Regions from separate parts of the Homo sapiens genome. Here regions 1, 2 and 3 are each linked to region 4. The links are contacts of gene promoters, found by promoter capture Hi-C in blood cells and fetal thymus (Javierre and others, 2016). All regions are on one chromosome and are shown on one strand. Each heading gives the region's core, a stretch centred on a gene start or on the middle of the fragment in contact. The rest is flanking DNA. Distances are from core to core; before and after follow the strand shown.

Region 1 (3,394 bases), core at 752-3,251, 160 kb after region 4:
CCCTGGAGGTGGAGGTTGCAGTGAGCTGAGATTGTACCACTGCACTTCAGCCTGGGTGACAGAGCGAGACTCCATCTCGAAGAGAAAAAAAAAATTCAGACTTGCAGGTAAATGCATCTCTTTTGCAACTACTCAATTGCCAATTGTTTGCAAAAGTGGCCATAGACAATACACATGGGCACGGCAACATTCCAACAAATCTTTATTTACAAAACCAAGTAGTGGATGGATTTGGCCCATGCTAAGACCTGACCTACAGGAATCAAAGTCTCACGTTTATGTCTAAAATAAGTTAGCATTCTCCCCTGCAATGCAGAAAAAAAATATTTAATGATAGTTATCTCTCCCAAAGGCCACAATGATTTTTCAACATCATATTACTATTTCAACCAAGTATCTGTTGAATATTCTGTAGCCACACTGGCCTTTCTATTCCTTCTACATGTTCCCGTCTCAGGACCTTTGCACTCTCTCCCCCCACATCCTTACATGTCTGGCTTCTTTTTGTAATTCACTTCTCAAGTGATGGGTTTTCCCTGACCAGCCTAGCTCAGTAACCACCCCCACTTCAATCTCTATCACATCACTGCGTTTACATATTTGGAGTCATACATGCTATCTTTAAATGCTCGAATTCTTTGCTAATTTGCATGCAGTTCTGTTTTCTGCTGTGAAAGGTGAGCACTCCAGGTTCAGGCACTTCCTGTGTCTCGTTCATTCAAGCATCCCTAGTGATTGAAACTCGGCTGGCACCTTGTTGTTCTACTTTTTGTTGTTAAAATCTCATCAGCTCTCACAGGCCGGTGCAAACACATAATTCCCCATAAAGCAAAGCTGGCTAAATATCTTAGGCCTGTACCCTACCGATTCACTCACAATCTACAAATATTTACTGGGCACCTACTATGTGCCAGGCACTGTTCTGCACTATGACACATTAGTGAGCACAACCCAAAGATCTCCACCCTTAAGGGGCTTGCATTCTAGCTGAGAGGCTGCAGGAGACAATGCGCAGTAAATATAATACCCAGATTTCTCTGGGAAGGTTTGGGGAGATGTTATTCAAATGAGGCAAAATTGTAGGAGAAATAAGTTCAAGAGATCTATTGTACAACATTGTGTCTCCAGTTAATAACAATGTATTGTATACTTGAAAATTGCCAGGCCGGGTGCTCACACCTGTAATCCCAGCACTTTGGGAGGCCTCGGTCAGAGGATCGCTTGAACCTAGAAGTTCAAGACCAGCATGGGCAACATGGTGAAATTCTGTCTCTGCAAAAGATACAAAAATTAGCCGGGTGTGGCAGCGCATTCCTGTGGTCCCAGCTACTTGGGAGGCTGTGGTGGGAGGTTCACTTGAGCCCGGGAGGTGAGCCAAGATCGTGCCACTGCACTCCACCCAGGGTGACAGAGTGAGACCCTGTCTCAAGAAAGAGGGAAGGGGAGGGGAGGGGAGGGGTTGCTAAATTGCTAGAAGAGTAGATTTTAATGTTCTTCCCACAAAAAAAATATTAAGTTTGAGTAGTAATGCATATGTTAATTAGCCTGATTTGGGCATTCTGCAGCGTATACATATTTCAAGACATCATGTATACCATAAATATATACAATTTTATATACAAATAATATAGAAATACATATTTTGTCAATTTTCAAAACTAAACAAGAAAACTATATAAAATGGTAGAAAGTTACCAGTAATATAGGAAAACTGAAAAAGCAAAGCAGGCTAAGTGGGCTAAGGGACGAGGTGGGCCTCACTGAGCAGAAACTGGAAGCAGGAGAGGGAGTCAGCCACTTGGAGCCTGGGGAAGAACACATAGGTGATATCTACATGGAAGGGCTAGCGCAATAGCTCTCGGGTGAGGGGATGCCTGGCATGTACAAAAAACAGGAAGGAGGCCTCTGTATGGTTACAGCAGAGAGGAGGAGGAAGAGAGTTAAAACAGATGATGTCAGAAAGGTGTGGGAACCAGATTATACAAGGTTTTGGAGGACTTTCACCGTAAGGTTTTTGGATTTACTCTGAATGAAATGGGGACGCACTGGAATTTTGAACAGAGGAATACTGTAATCTGGCTGCTCTGTAGAAATCAGGGAATAGGGGATAGAGGTAGAATAAGGGAAACTAGTTAGTAGACTCATCATAACCAGGCAAAAGATCATGGACCACGTAGGCCATGTGACATGGACCACAGTGGCAGCAGTGGAGGTGATAACAAGTGTCAGATCCTGGATAAATCTGTAGAGAAGTCAAGATTTCCTGATGGCTTGAGCTGGGGAGTGTGAGTGTGTGAGAAAAGAAGGCAGACAGAGATGATGATGACACCAGGGTTTTTTTTTTTTTTTTTTTGAGATGGAGTCTTGCTCTGTCACCCAGGCTGGAGTGCAGTGGCACAATCTCAGCTTACTGCAACTTCTGCCTCCTGGGTTCAAGGGATTCTCCTGCCTTAGCCTCCTGAGTAGGTAGGATTACAGGCGCCCACCACCACGCCTGGCTAATGTTTTTGTATTTTTAGTAGAGACAGGGTTTCACCATGTTAGTCAGCTGGTCTTGAACTCTTGACCTCCAGTGATCCCCCTGCACCTGGGTGATGCTAGGGTTTTTGACCTAAACCAGGAAGGATGCAGCTACCCTCAGGTGAGTGGAGGAAAATCTAGGTCGTGGAAATGCAGATTTTTTTTTTTTTTGAGATAGGGTCTTGCTCTGTTGCCCAGGCTGGAGTGCAGTAGTGCAATCATGGCTCACTGCAGCCCCAGCGTCTTGGGCTCAAGCATCCGCCCTCCTCAGCCTCTCAAGTAGCTGGGACTACAGGTGTGCGCCACCATGCCTGGCTAATTTTTTAAAATTCTTTTTAGAGGCAGGGTCTCGCTATGTTGCTCAGGCTGGCCTCCAACTCCTGGGCTCAAGTACCCACCTCGGCCTCCTGAAGTGCTAAGATTTTAGGTGTGAGCCACTTCACTTGGCCTAGACATGTGGATTTTTAAGTTGGGGAGATCCGGAGTTCAGTTTCAGACATGTTACATTTCAGATCATTTCAGATGGTTTTTAGACATTTCCTTTTTTTTTTTTTTCTTTGAGATGGCGTCTCACTCTGTCGCCCAGGCTGGAGTGCAGTGGTGTGATCTTGGCTCACGGCAAGCTCTGCCTTCTGGGTTCATGCCATTCTCCTGCCTCAGCCTCCCAAGTAGCTGGGACTACAGGCGCCCGCCACCATTTCCAGCTAATTTTTTGTATTTTTAGTACAGATGGGGTTTCACCGTGTTAGCCAGGATGGTCTCGATCTCCTGACTTCGTGATCCGCCCGCCTCAGCCTCCCAAAGTGCTGGGATTACAGGCATAAGCCACCGCGCCCAGCCAAGTTTTTAGACATTTCTAAGTGGAGACTTTGAG
Region 2 (3,436 bases), core at 255-2,754, 190 kb after region 4:
AGCCCTTTGTCGTCTAAGAGATAGCTAAGATGCCCAGTACTAACCTGTTGTTTTTTCCTGAAACAAGGTCTTGCTCTGTTGCCCAGGCTGGAGTGTAGTGGTGCTATCTTGGCTCACTACAGCCTTGACCTCCTGGGCTCAGGTGATCCTCCCACCTAAGCCTCCCAAGTAGCTGGGACCACAGGTGCAGGCTACCATGCCTGGCTAACTTGTATTTTTGTAGAGACAAGGTCTCACCATGTTGGCCAGGCTGGTCTCAAACTCCTGGGCTCAAGTGATCCACCCGCCTCAGCCTCCCAAAGTGCTAGGATTACAGGCGTGAGCCATTGCACCCAGCCTCTTTCTCTTCTTTTTAATTTGAGGTGAAATTCATCTAACATAAAATTAACTTTTTTTTTTTTTTGAGACGGAGTCTCACTCTATCACCAGGCTGGAGTGTAGTGGCGCGATCTCAGCTCACTGCAATGTCTGCCTCCTGGGTTCAAGCAATTCTCCTGCCTCAGCCTCCTGAGTAGCTGGGATTACAGGCACGCGCCAAGATGCCCGGTTAATTTTTTTGTATTTTTAGTAGAGATAGGGTTTCACCATGTTGGCCAGGCTGGTCTTGAACTCCTGACCTCAGGTGATCCACCCACCTCGGCCTTCCGAAGTGCTGGGATTACAGGGGTAAGCCACCGTGCCCGACCTTAAGAATACAGTTAAGAATACTGTTTGGTATACTAAGCAGGCATATTTTACATAGTTACAAGTAGAAAATGAGTTACAAAGCTTTGGGTTCAAAGTATAGAACATCAACACTTTGTCTTAATATCCTCAATAAAAATTTCACACAAATACCAACACTCGCTCTTTTTTTTTTTGAGACAGGGTTTCACTCTGTGGCCTGGTGTGCAGTATGCTGGTGTGCAGTGGCTCAATCACCGCTCACTGCCGCCTTGATCTCCTCAGGCTCGGGTGATCATCCCACCTCACCCTCCCAAGTACCTAGGACTACAGGTGTGCGTTAGCACGCCCAACTAATTTTTGTTTTTGTTTTGATAGAGACAGGGGTTGGCCGTGTTGCCCAGTGTAATCCCAGCACTTCAGGAGGCTGAGGCAGGAGGACTGCTTGAGGCCAGGAGTTTGAGACTAGCCTGGGCAACAAAGCAAGACCCTGTCAAAAAACAAAAACAAAAAACAGAAGAAGGATTAATAGTTACATTAAGAAGAATGAGGCGGCTAAGGAAAAGAAACCCCCACCAAGATATTATAAGTGGTAAAAGGTACCAAAAAGTGTGACTAGTATGCTAACATTTGTAAGGGAGGGGGGAATTTACTCATAAATGCTTGATAGCTCTCTGGAAGAATTCACAAGAAACCAGTTATGGTGGTTGCCTCCAGGGAAGAAAAAAAAAAATCCCCTAATGACTGGGGCAGTCACACACCAGGTGTGGCCTATTCAAAAATACATAAACAAGTAAGAAATAAATCATGCTTTTAAAATCTGGCTTTTCCCCCAATTCCCCTTCTTTAACAGAGTGTATTCAATCTTGGCTGAACCCTCAGAGCTCACTGGCGTGTGTAACTGACTTTAGAGAGAGCCAGGAGGTCGGGATTGCACACAATAGGGTTAGCTGAAGGTGAAGCACCTAGGGCTAGAGACTTCCCCGGCCAAGGGCAAGGCAGAGCTGGGATAAAGGAGTTCAAAGCCCTGAGGTGGAAGAAGGCTGGTGCATATAAAGAAGGAGAAGGCAGCCTGGCCGGAGGAGACTGTGTTGCAAGAGGGACCAGCAACATAAAAGGATTGTCTAAATTTAGCTTTACTTGGAGTTGGGAAGTCCTTGTTGGGTTTCTGCTCAGATCTGAGCCCCACTCACTCCATGTTAGGTGATCTGGGTTCCTAAGTGTTCTCCCAACAGTACCCTCTCGGTGATGCCTACAGGATCCCATGGAAACGTCATCCTTTTATCGTGAGCATTTGGCATCTTACTCAGTTTCCCTGGACTCAATCTTCCATCCACGTGAGTGTATCCTACATTTCCCTCTAGTCTTTTTTCCTTTCCTTTCTTTACTTTTGCCCCATGTCCCTAGGACTGGCCCACAATTCAGACTGGTTACCAAGTACCTAGTGTATAAAATAGTACCCTTTACTCTCCCTGTGAGCTGCCTTGCCTGATCTCGGCCACATCTGAAGAATCAACATACATATAACCTTTAGGTTGGCTTACATTTGCCGTCATTTAACCCCCAGGTCCCTCACCCCAAGCTTGTGAGCTGGGTGGGGTCCATACTACAAGCAAATATTATCTAAATAAACAGAACTTGGCCAGGCTCAGTGGCTCATGCCTGTAAGTAATCCCAACACTTTGGGAGGCTGAGGCAGGAGGATCACTTGAGGCCAGGAGTTCAAGGCTAGCCTGGGCAACATAGTGAGATCCTATCTCTACCCCCCCCAAAAAAACAGGAAATAATAATAAATAAGAAATTTACAAAATTAAAAAATTAGCTGGGCGTGGTAGTGTGCACCTGAGTCTTAGCTACTGGGGAGGCTGAAGTGGGAGGATGGCTTGAGGCCAGGAGGTTGAGGCTGCAGTGAGCTCTGACAGTGCCTGGGTGACAGAGCAAGACCCTGCCTGTCTCAGACTATTGCACATTGGTGACACGTAATTGAACACTGCTAATGGAGAGTATCTGTTGCCCACTCATGCAACTAACATTTTACATTTTCAATTTTTCTCTAACAATCCAATGCCAATTTCTAGATCTGCTTGAAGTTATCAGAAAGTCTTTATCCCACCCAACTACTTCCAACTTCTCTCTAGGGTTTTCTTCCATCTCTAATGACTGTTCATTCCGCTTTCTCAATTACTGGCATTTCATAATCCAAGGAAAGTGAGAAAGTGAAGGAAGAAGCCATCGTATCATCCTGTTTTTCATTTCCATCAGGTGGTTGAATCTTTTTGGCAAATAAAGCACTTGACTGCCTAAAATTTTTCTGCAATGACATTGTTTATCTACCTTACTCACTTGCTGATCTGCCAAACTGACAAAATAAACAATAAACCTTAGCCAAAAGGTTTCTGTTCAGCAAACTACTCCCTGATGCCAGGCGGCTCACGCTTGTAATCCCAGCACTTTGGGAGGCCGAGGTGGGTGAATCACCTGAGGTCAGGAGTTTGAGACCAGCCTGGCCAACATAGTGAAACCCTGTCTCTACTAAAAATACAAAAATTAGCCGGGCGTGGTGGTGCACACCTGTAATCCCAGCTACTCAGGAGACTGAGGCAGGAGAATTGCTTGAACCCAGAAGGTGGAGGTTGCAGTGAGTGGAGATCGCGCCACTGCACTCCAGCCTGGGTGACAGAACGAGACTCTATCTCAAAAAAAAAAATAGTCCCTGACATTTTTGCCTATGGAGTCACACCCAAGACATTCAATCTATGTACCGAGTGCCTCA
Region 3 (3,258 bases), core at 686-3,185, 240 kb after region 4:
GAATGAATAAGATGATGTACAATTGGCTCTTCCTTTCTCAGGATGAAGATGTGAATTACTGTATTTTAAAGAAACAGTCTGTCTCTGTCACCCTTTTAATCCTAGACATCTCCAGAAGTGAGTAAGTAATTCTAAAGTTCCTTCAGTTCAGTCCTAGAGTAGAGTCGGGGAGAATTTAGTAGTATGCTAACATTCCTTGGGTGTCTGCCATGTGCCAGAGACCGTGCTGAGTGCTGGAGATTCAAGACAAGGCTAGGGAGACAGAGGTCCTGTCCTTGATGGGAGAGACAGAACGGAAATACACATGATCACCGCCAAACAGAGAAGTGGAAGGGAAGAACTCATGAATTGTAGAAAGGAAGGAGAGGCTTCAGATAAGTGTTGGCCCAAGCAGCTTTCTAGTGAGTAGCCTTTTACCAGATGAATAAGTAAAGCATTCCAGGCAGAGGGCATAGTCTATGCAAAGGCAGAGTGGAAACAAGACTGGGTCCACGTAATGGCTTCTGCCACTCACCAGCCCTGTGACTCCGGGCCTCAGTGTCCTTACCTACTTCGTGATGATGGTATCTGCCTCATGAGATTGTTGGTGAGGATTTCTGACAATTCAGCCTCTTTGAAAATGTTGAGGCCGGGCATGGTGGCTCATGCCTGTAATCCCAGCCCTTTGGGAGGCCGAGGCGGACGGATCACGAGGTCAGGAGATTGAGACCATCCTGGCTAAAACAGTGAAACCCCGTCTCTACTAAAAATACAAAAAATTAGCCGGGCGTGGTGGTGGGCGCCTGTAGTCCCAGCTATTCGGGAGGCTGAGACAGGAGAATGGTGTGAACCCAGGAGGCGGAGCTTGCGGTGAGCCGAGATCGCGCCACTGCACTCCAGCCTGGGTGAGAGAGTGAGACTCCGTCTCAAAAAAAAAAAAAAAATGTTGAACTTTGATGAATTATCAGACTTTGTGTTTTCAAGTTCAGCATACTTCCAACTGCGTACTTTGTAATTGCTGAGGGAGCCTTTAAGGTAGGAATCATGTGCTCAGACTTGCCTGTAAGGTAGACTCCTAGCAGCCCAGAAGAGGATGGATTTGAGATGAACAAGACTGGAGGTAAGAAGACTAATGAATAAGCTTCTAAAAAAAAAATGCTTTGTCATAAAACCATTGTAGACCCTAACTTTTAAAATATTCTCCGTGATAACCTCTGTTTTCATTTAAGAAGATTGATCTGACAGTCTCCTGTATTGGTCAGTCTACTTTTGGAAGCAAGCAACAAAAGACTTGACTTAGACTCTGGCGTGAATAGTGAAGACATTGATTACCTCACCTATGTGCAGTGGGGCAGGCGAGAGACAGGCCTGCGGTGGCTTGCTGATGTTAGGGACTCTGGTGCATTTCATCTTTCTGCTCTGCCATCCTGAGTGTTAGCTTCTTCCTCAGGCAGGTTTCCCAGCCATCACAAGGTGGCTCTGCTCCATCATTCATATCCAGCCAAGGGACAGAGAGCAGGCTCCTCCTCCAGGTAGAATGAGAAGTGCTTGAATGTGCCAGCTTAGGTTGGGCATCCACTCAGTCATGGGAACTGTCACTGGCCCCTCCTGGGTGGGATGGGGTAAACAAAATTGGGTCTCATGAGAAGGGGGAAGGGTGGAAATGGATATTAGGAGGCAACTAACAGTGCCACTGCCCTCTCGTGCTTCCCTGGATTTCACTTGCTTTCTTTATTTTTTGAGACGGGGTCTCGCTCTGTGGCCCAGGCTGGAGTGCAGTGGCACGATCTTGGCTCATTGCATCCTCCACCTCCCAGGTTCAAGCGATTCTCCTGCCTTAGCCTCCCAAGTAGCTGGGATTACAGGTGCATGCCAACACACCCGGCCAGTTTTTTTTTGTAATTTTAGTAGAGACAGGGTTTTGCCATGTTGGCCAGGCTGTTCCTGAATTCCTGACCTCAAGTGATCCACCCGCCTCAGCCTCCCAAAGTGCTGAGATTACAGGCGTGAGCCACCATGCCTGGCCTGGATTTCACTTTAAAGTCTTACTGATGTTTTACATTTTGTCCGTTTCTCTTGTGCACCAATTTGCTGAGCATTTTAACGATACTTAAGGAGAAAGATGTACCTCAGAATTGTGTGGTTACTAAGATCTTAGGCTTAAGAGAGACTACCTGGATCCTCGTCCAACTACTTCCTAGCTTGGTGCCCTTGGGCAAGTTATTTAACGTTTCTGAGCCTCAGTTTTGGTATCTGTAGAATGTGGATAATAGAATCTACATTGTAGAACATGATAAGGACTGCATGAGCTTGGCACAGGGCCTACACGCAGCGTGCTCAGTGGCCAGGAGCACTGCTTTGACCTTTTTTCCTTCTGTCTTATTTGAATGTAGGGTAAGAGTAAAGTCTCCACCAGAAGCTGGTACCCAGTTACCAAAGATCATCTTCAGCAGGGATGAGAAAGTCCTTGGTCAGAGCCAGGAGCCTAATGTTAACCCTGCTTCAGCAGGCAACCAGACCCAGAAGACACAAGGTAAACCGTAAGGTGGAAACTGGCTTTCAGTTTTCACTACCTGCTTTGTAGCTTTTTTGTTCCTAATTAAAAGTAAAAGTAAAACATGATCTGTTGTCGTCTTAGCATTATATTTTGGAAGTTACACAAAAATACGTAAATGTTAAAGAAAAATGTGGAAAATCTGAAGCAGATGGAAAAACAACAGTCATTTCTCCTTATTCCCAGTGTTAGAATTTTAGTAATTTATGTTTTCTTATAAGCTTGTTTCATAAGTCTAGAACATTTGATTTTTAAAATTCAGTCATGCTTATAATTTTATATACATGCCTGATTACTTTTTAGCCCATTTCATACCTATCATATATCCTGTTAAGCAGATACTGTAATTTGCTCAACCTTTCCCCTTAAGGAGACACATTTCCATTTTTGTGTGATTATGAATATTGCTGCAGTGGACTTCTTTATGCATAGAACTGTCTTCGTATAGCGAACGTTCTTTAAGATGGTTTTCAGAATTGCAATTTCTGGTTCAAAGGATATGAATGCATTTGAGAATATTGATGTATATTTTTAAATTCCTTTCCAAATGAGTTGTGTGGATTTATATTCTTATCAGAAATATGTAGGAATAGTGGGCACATTATCATGTCCTAGCCAATATGGGGTATTTTCTTTTCAAAAAACAAAATCCTAAAATGAAAGGCAAAAAAGGTATTCCTGTTTATTTATTTATTTATTTATTTATTTATTTATTTTTTGAGACG
Region 4 (3,196 bases), core at 644-3,143:
TGAGGGAACCTAGACCCAGGCAGCCGCTAAAGGTGAATTTGCATCTAAGCTTGTCCTGAACTTACTTATCTTTGCCCCTTTCCTTCAGTTTCTTCATATCCACCATACCACCTGTCTTCATCTGAAAGGGATCATCCTGCAGAAAGCAAACACAGTTAAGAGGAAGCATCTAAATACATGGTAGTGGAATTTTTTTTTTTGTGAAGCACGCTCACTCACTGAAGAGCACTGCAGGGAGGGCTGCCATAACTACTCAGGGAAGACCCCATAACTTACCACTAGAGTGGTCTCCTCTTGTACCTTCTCTCCCACCAGCAAGGCCACAGCACTGAGCAAAACCAAAAAAAAAAGAGAGGGGGAGAGAGAGAAATGGCATAATTCAGAGATAAGGAGGAACCCTCTCAGGTATGCGGATTGCAACATTAGTGCAAGGGTGGGATTTGAGGGGTGGGTAGGCAAGCCGGCTGGAAAAGCCTATAAGCATAAGACAGGGCTCAACGAGCACCGCAGATGCTGGAAGAAGGGTGCGCTGGTGGTGAAGTGGTACACTTTGCCACTTTCCTGTAAAGCCATTTGGCATTATCTTGGCCTGGAAATCTCATTTCTAAGATATTCTCATCATGGAAAGTGCAGCTAAAGATAAATTTAAGAGAATATCCACTGCAGCCTTATTTGATAGTAAAAATTTACAAAATCACCTACATGTCCCAAAATAGGGGATTTGTTAACAAATTACAATACACACATCTGGTGGAATATTATGCAGCCATTAAGGCTTTCTGAAAAATATTCCACAATATGGGTGAATGCCCACAATGTCATAATGAGTTGAAAAGAACAGGGAATAAAAGTACATAGAAAGTTGTTCACAATCTGAGAGAGAGAGACGAAAAAAAACAGATTGGAAAGAGTATTCAATATTAATACCAGTGCATTCTTGGGTGGCTCTGCAAGGAAAAAAAATGTTAACACTGATCATTTCCGGATGGGAGAATTATGGGTGCTTTTTATCGTCTTGACTATACTTTTCTAAATTATACAAACTCTTAACGATCGATATGCATTTCACAATTAATTGGTTTTAATAAAAAACGCGAGTTAGTGATCTGTTTCTGTATCTCTGGAGCACACCCCGAGACGACACAGCTCAGGGCATGTCCTGGTTAAACATTTGCAAAGAACGCTGTTCTCCAAGTTGGGCAGTGGAAGGTGTACAGTGTGTCAAGAGAAAAATCTACGTCTGAGGAGATATTTGTGACAGCGACCCGGACGCGGATGTGTCTGTCGTCCCCGCCGCCTCCTCCTCCTCCCCGCGTGGTACCCACCTCACCCCGTTGGGCCTCTTCCTCAAGTTCTGTACCTCTCTGGTCTCTTCCAGTTTTAATCTTTAAAAAGAAGAAGAAGCAGCAATGCATAAGCTGAGTGATTCCCCGCGGAATCCAAAGCTAACAGAGCCAATAAGGCACCTTCGAGGGCATCCCAGCCCAGCTACTGAGCCACCAGCACAGTGGTCCAGAGGACGACCTTGTGCCTAGACCCACCGGGAGTCAGAGCCACTGCGCATCCCGGAGGCATCTCTCTCAACCGTTCGAGCTTGGGGCGGTGGCCTCACCCCTTGAGCCTCAATTTCTGCGTCCGCAGAAGGAACCACCACCCGAGCTCACAGTTAACAATGTCAGCGAAGCGCCGAGCCGGTGGTGAGTCCCCCAAACAAGTCTATCTTTACCAAGCCTATGGGAGCCCCGCCCCAAACGCACCGAACCTCCTCTGAGTCCTGCTCATCTTCCTCTGACTCCGAGTCGCCCCGGCGGCGACGGAAAATCTTCCGGACGACCGGCATGGTGACAACGGCCGAGTTGTACAGCCGCCGCGCCTCTGCGCAGCGGCCCAGGCTGCTTCCGGCGCGCGGCAGAGCGGTCAGAGCGCCTGCCCCGTCTGGCCCCGCCCCCGGCACGCACAGTCCGCGTGGCCACGCCCCCTCTCCTGGCGTCAGCCTCTTCCGATTGGACGGCAGAGGGAAGGAGGTGGGGCGTCGCCAGACGGCCCCACAACCCTGCGCGTCGCCTCAGAGGGGGCGCGCTTGACTGACAGGCGGCGGCGGCGCAGTTGCGAGTGCAGGTGAGTTCCGGGCCGCCACCGGCTGCTTCTGTGGGCCGGGCCTCTGAGCATTGGCGACCCCAGCCCGGCTCCGGGCTGACAGGGCCTGGCTTCGCCAGGTACGCCAGACGCAGCGGCCCGGTGAGCGGAGCCCGGGACCCCCCCGGCCGCCGCCGCCCCTCTCCCCTCCTCCGGTCGGCGCCCAGGGGGGCCTCTGGGCCCCAGCACCACCCCACTCTGAGCTCCCTGGGGGCTCGTGGCTTCTCCAGAACCGGGGCCGCCCCCCTCTCATTTCTGCCGGGGCCTGACCTAGCGTTGAAAGCATCCGCGTGGCGTCTCGCGTCTCGGGCGCTGACTTTTCTTTCCTCGGGCTCTGAGCCCTGACGTGCGTTTTTTTCTTTCGGAACAAAAGATGACCACTTCTCTGCGGTGCTGACTTAGAGTCCCAGCGCCGACTGCCTCACAAATAATGGCCCCCAGCTTCTCCGCGAGGAGAGGCGCGTCTGATGTTTTGAAGCCACGCAAGAGGGTTTGAGCCGGGGGACTCCTCCTCGGTGCTTGCCGGCCACCCCCCTGGACCTTCACGGGTCTGGTTTTCCTCCTTCGGCAGGTCTGTCGCTCTACCCTCTGCCCCTTCCACCCCGAAGATGCTGTGAGGATAAAGTTTATTTGAAAAACTGGTATCAGCAAACGCTTAGGAAATACCTAAATGCATAAATAATGGCTTCTAGGACTTTTAAGAACCCCTTAAGTAACAGTAGTTTTCCTTTTCTCAGTGTCATCCCTTACTTTGAGAACTACCTCTTATTAAGCAGTTACTATGTGGCAGGCCCTGGGCAAAGCATCATCTCATTGAATTCTCCCAGCAATCCTTTGAGGTAGATTGTTTTTCGTTTTACAAATGAGAATGCGGAGTCTCCGAGGGGCAGTGCACGCCTCAAGTTACCCAGCTAGGAGGTGGAACAGGAATTGGTTGCAGGTCAGTCTCTGCCGCACGGTTTGCACAGGGCCTGGCACGGTAGGAGTGCAGTAGATGTTTGCTGCTGCTGCAGCTGCTGTTACATCTCATTGGCTAGGGGGAGGGGCCGATGGGGGCTGT

What was found. The method cuts DNA at HindIII sites, captures the fragments that hold promoters and counts their contacts. A CHiCAGO score of 5 or more calls a contact.
Region 1: a contact is called between a fragment that was not itself captured here and the fragment with the promoter of C9orf78 in region 4, in 2 of 17 cell types (total CD8 T cells and naive CD4 T cells). The highest score is 7.2, in total CD8 T cells.
Region 2: a contact is called between a fragment that was not itself captured here and the fragment with the promoter of C9orf78 in region 4, in 4 of 17 cell types (total CD8 T cells, naive CD8 T cells, naive CD4 T cells and 1 more). The highest score is 7.2, in total CD8 T cells.
Region 3: a contact is called between a fragment that was not itself captured here and the fragment with the promoter of C9orf78 in region 4, in 12 of 17 cell types (total CD8 T cells, activated CD4 T cells, naive CD4 T cells and 9 more). The highest score is 10.4, in total CD8 T cells.

What each region holds. Positions count from the first base shown.
Region 1 is chr9:129,988,599-129,991,992 of GRCh38, forward strand. The region is part of intron 2 of FNBP1 (formin binding protein 1); the gene reads right to left. Among named protein-coding and RNA genes, the nearest start is that of FNBP1, 53 kb to the right of the region's middle. RefSeq lists an enhancer at 373-422 and a silencer at 1,172-1,466. The HindIII fragment of the contact is 5,563 bases long and covers 1-3,394 here.
Region 2 is chr9:130,021,821-130,025,256 of GRCh38, forward strand. All of the region lies in intron 1 of FNBP1 (formin binding protein 1), which reads right to left. Among named protein-coding and RNA genes, the nearest start is that of FNBP1, 20 kb to the right of the region's middle. RefSeq lists an enhancer at 746-865 and a silencer at 2,201-2,351. The HindIII fragment of the contact is 1,477 bases long and covers 767-2,243 here.
Region 3 is chr9:130,077,258-130,080,515 of GRCh38, forward strand. GPR107 (G protein-coupled receptor 107) reads left to right here. Exons shown (of 18, transcript NM_020960.5): 4 at 42-121; 5 at 2,373-2,512. Among named protein-coding and RNA genes, the nearest start is that of GPR107, 25 kb to the left of the region's middle. The HindIII fragment of the contact is 1,634 bases long and covers 1,119-2,752 here.
Region 4 is chr9:129,833,382-129,836,577 of GRCh38, forward strand. It overlaps C9orf78 (chromosome 9 open reading frame 78), which reads right to left and starts at 1,894. Exons shown (of 9, transcript NM_016520.3): 1 at 1,758-1,894; 2 at 1,326-1,385; 3 at 277-328; 4 at 66-136. The coding sequence starts at 1,840. USP20 (ubiquitin specific peptidase 20) reads left to right here and starts at 2,077. Exons shown (of 26, transcript NM_001110303.4): 1 at 2,077-2,118. RefSeq lists silencers at 1,826-2,175, 2,206-2,355 and an enhancer at 2,327-2,827. The HindIII fragment of the contact is 4,419 bases long and covers 48-3,196 here.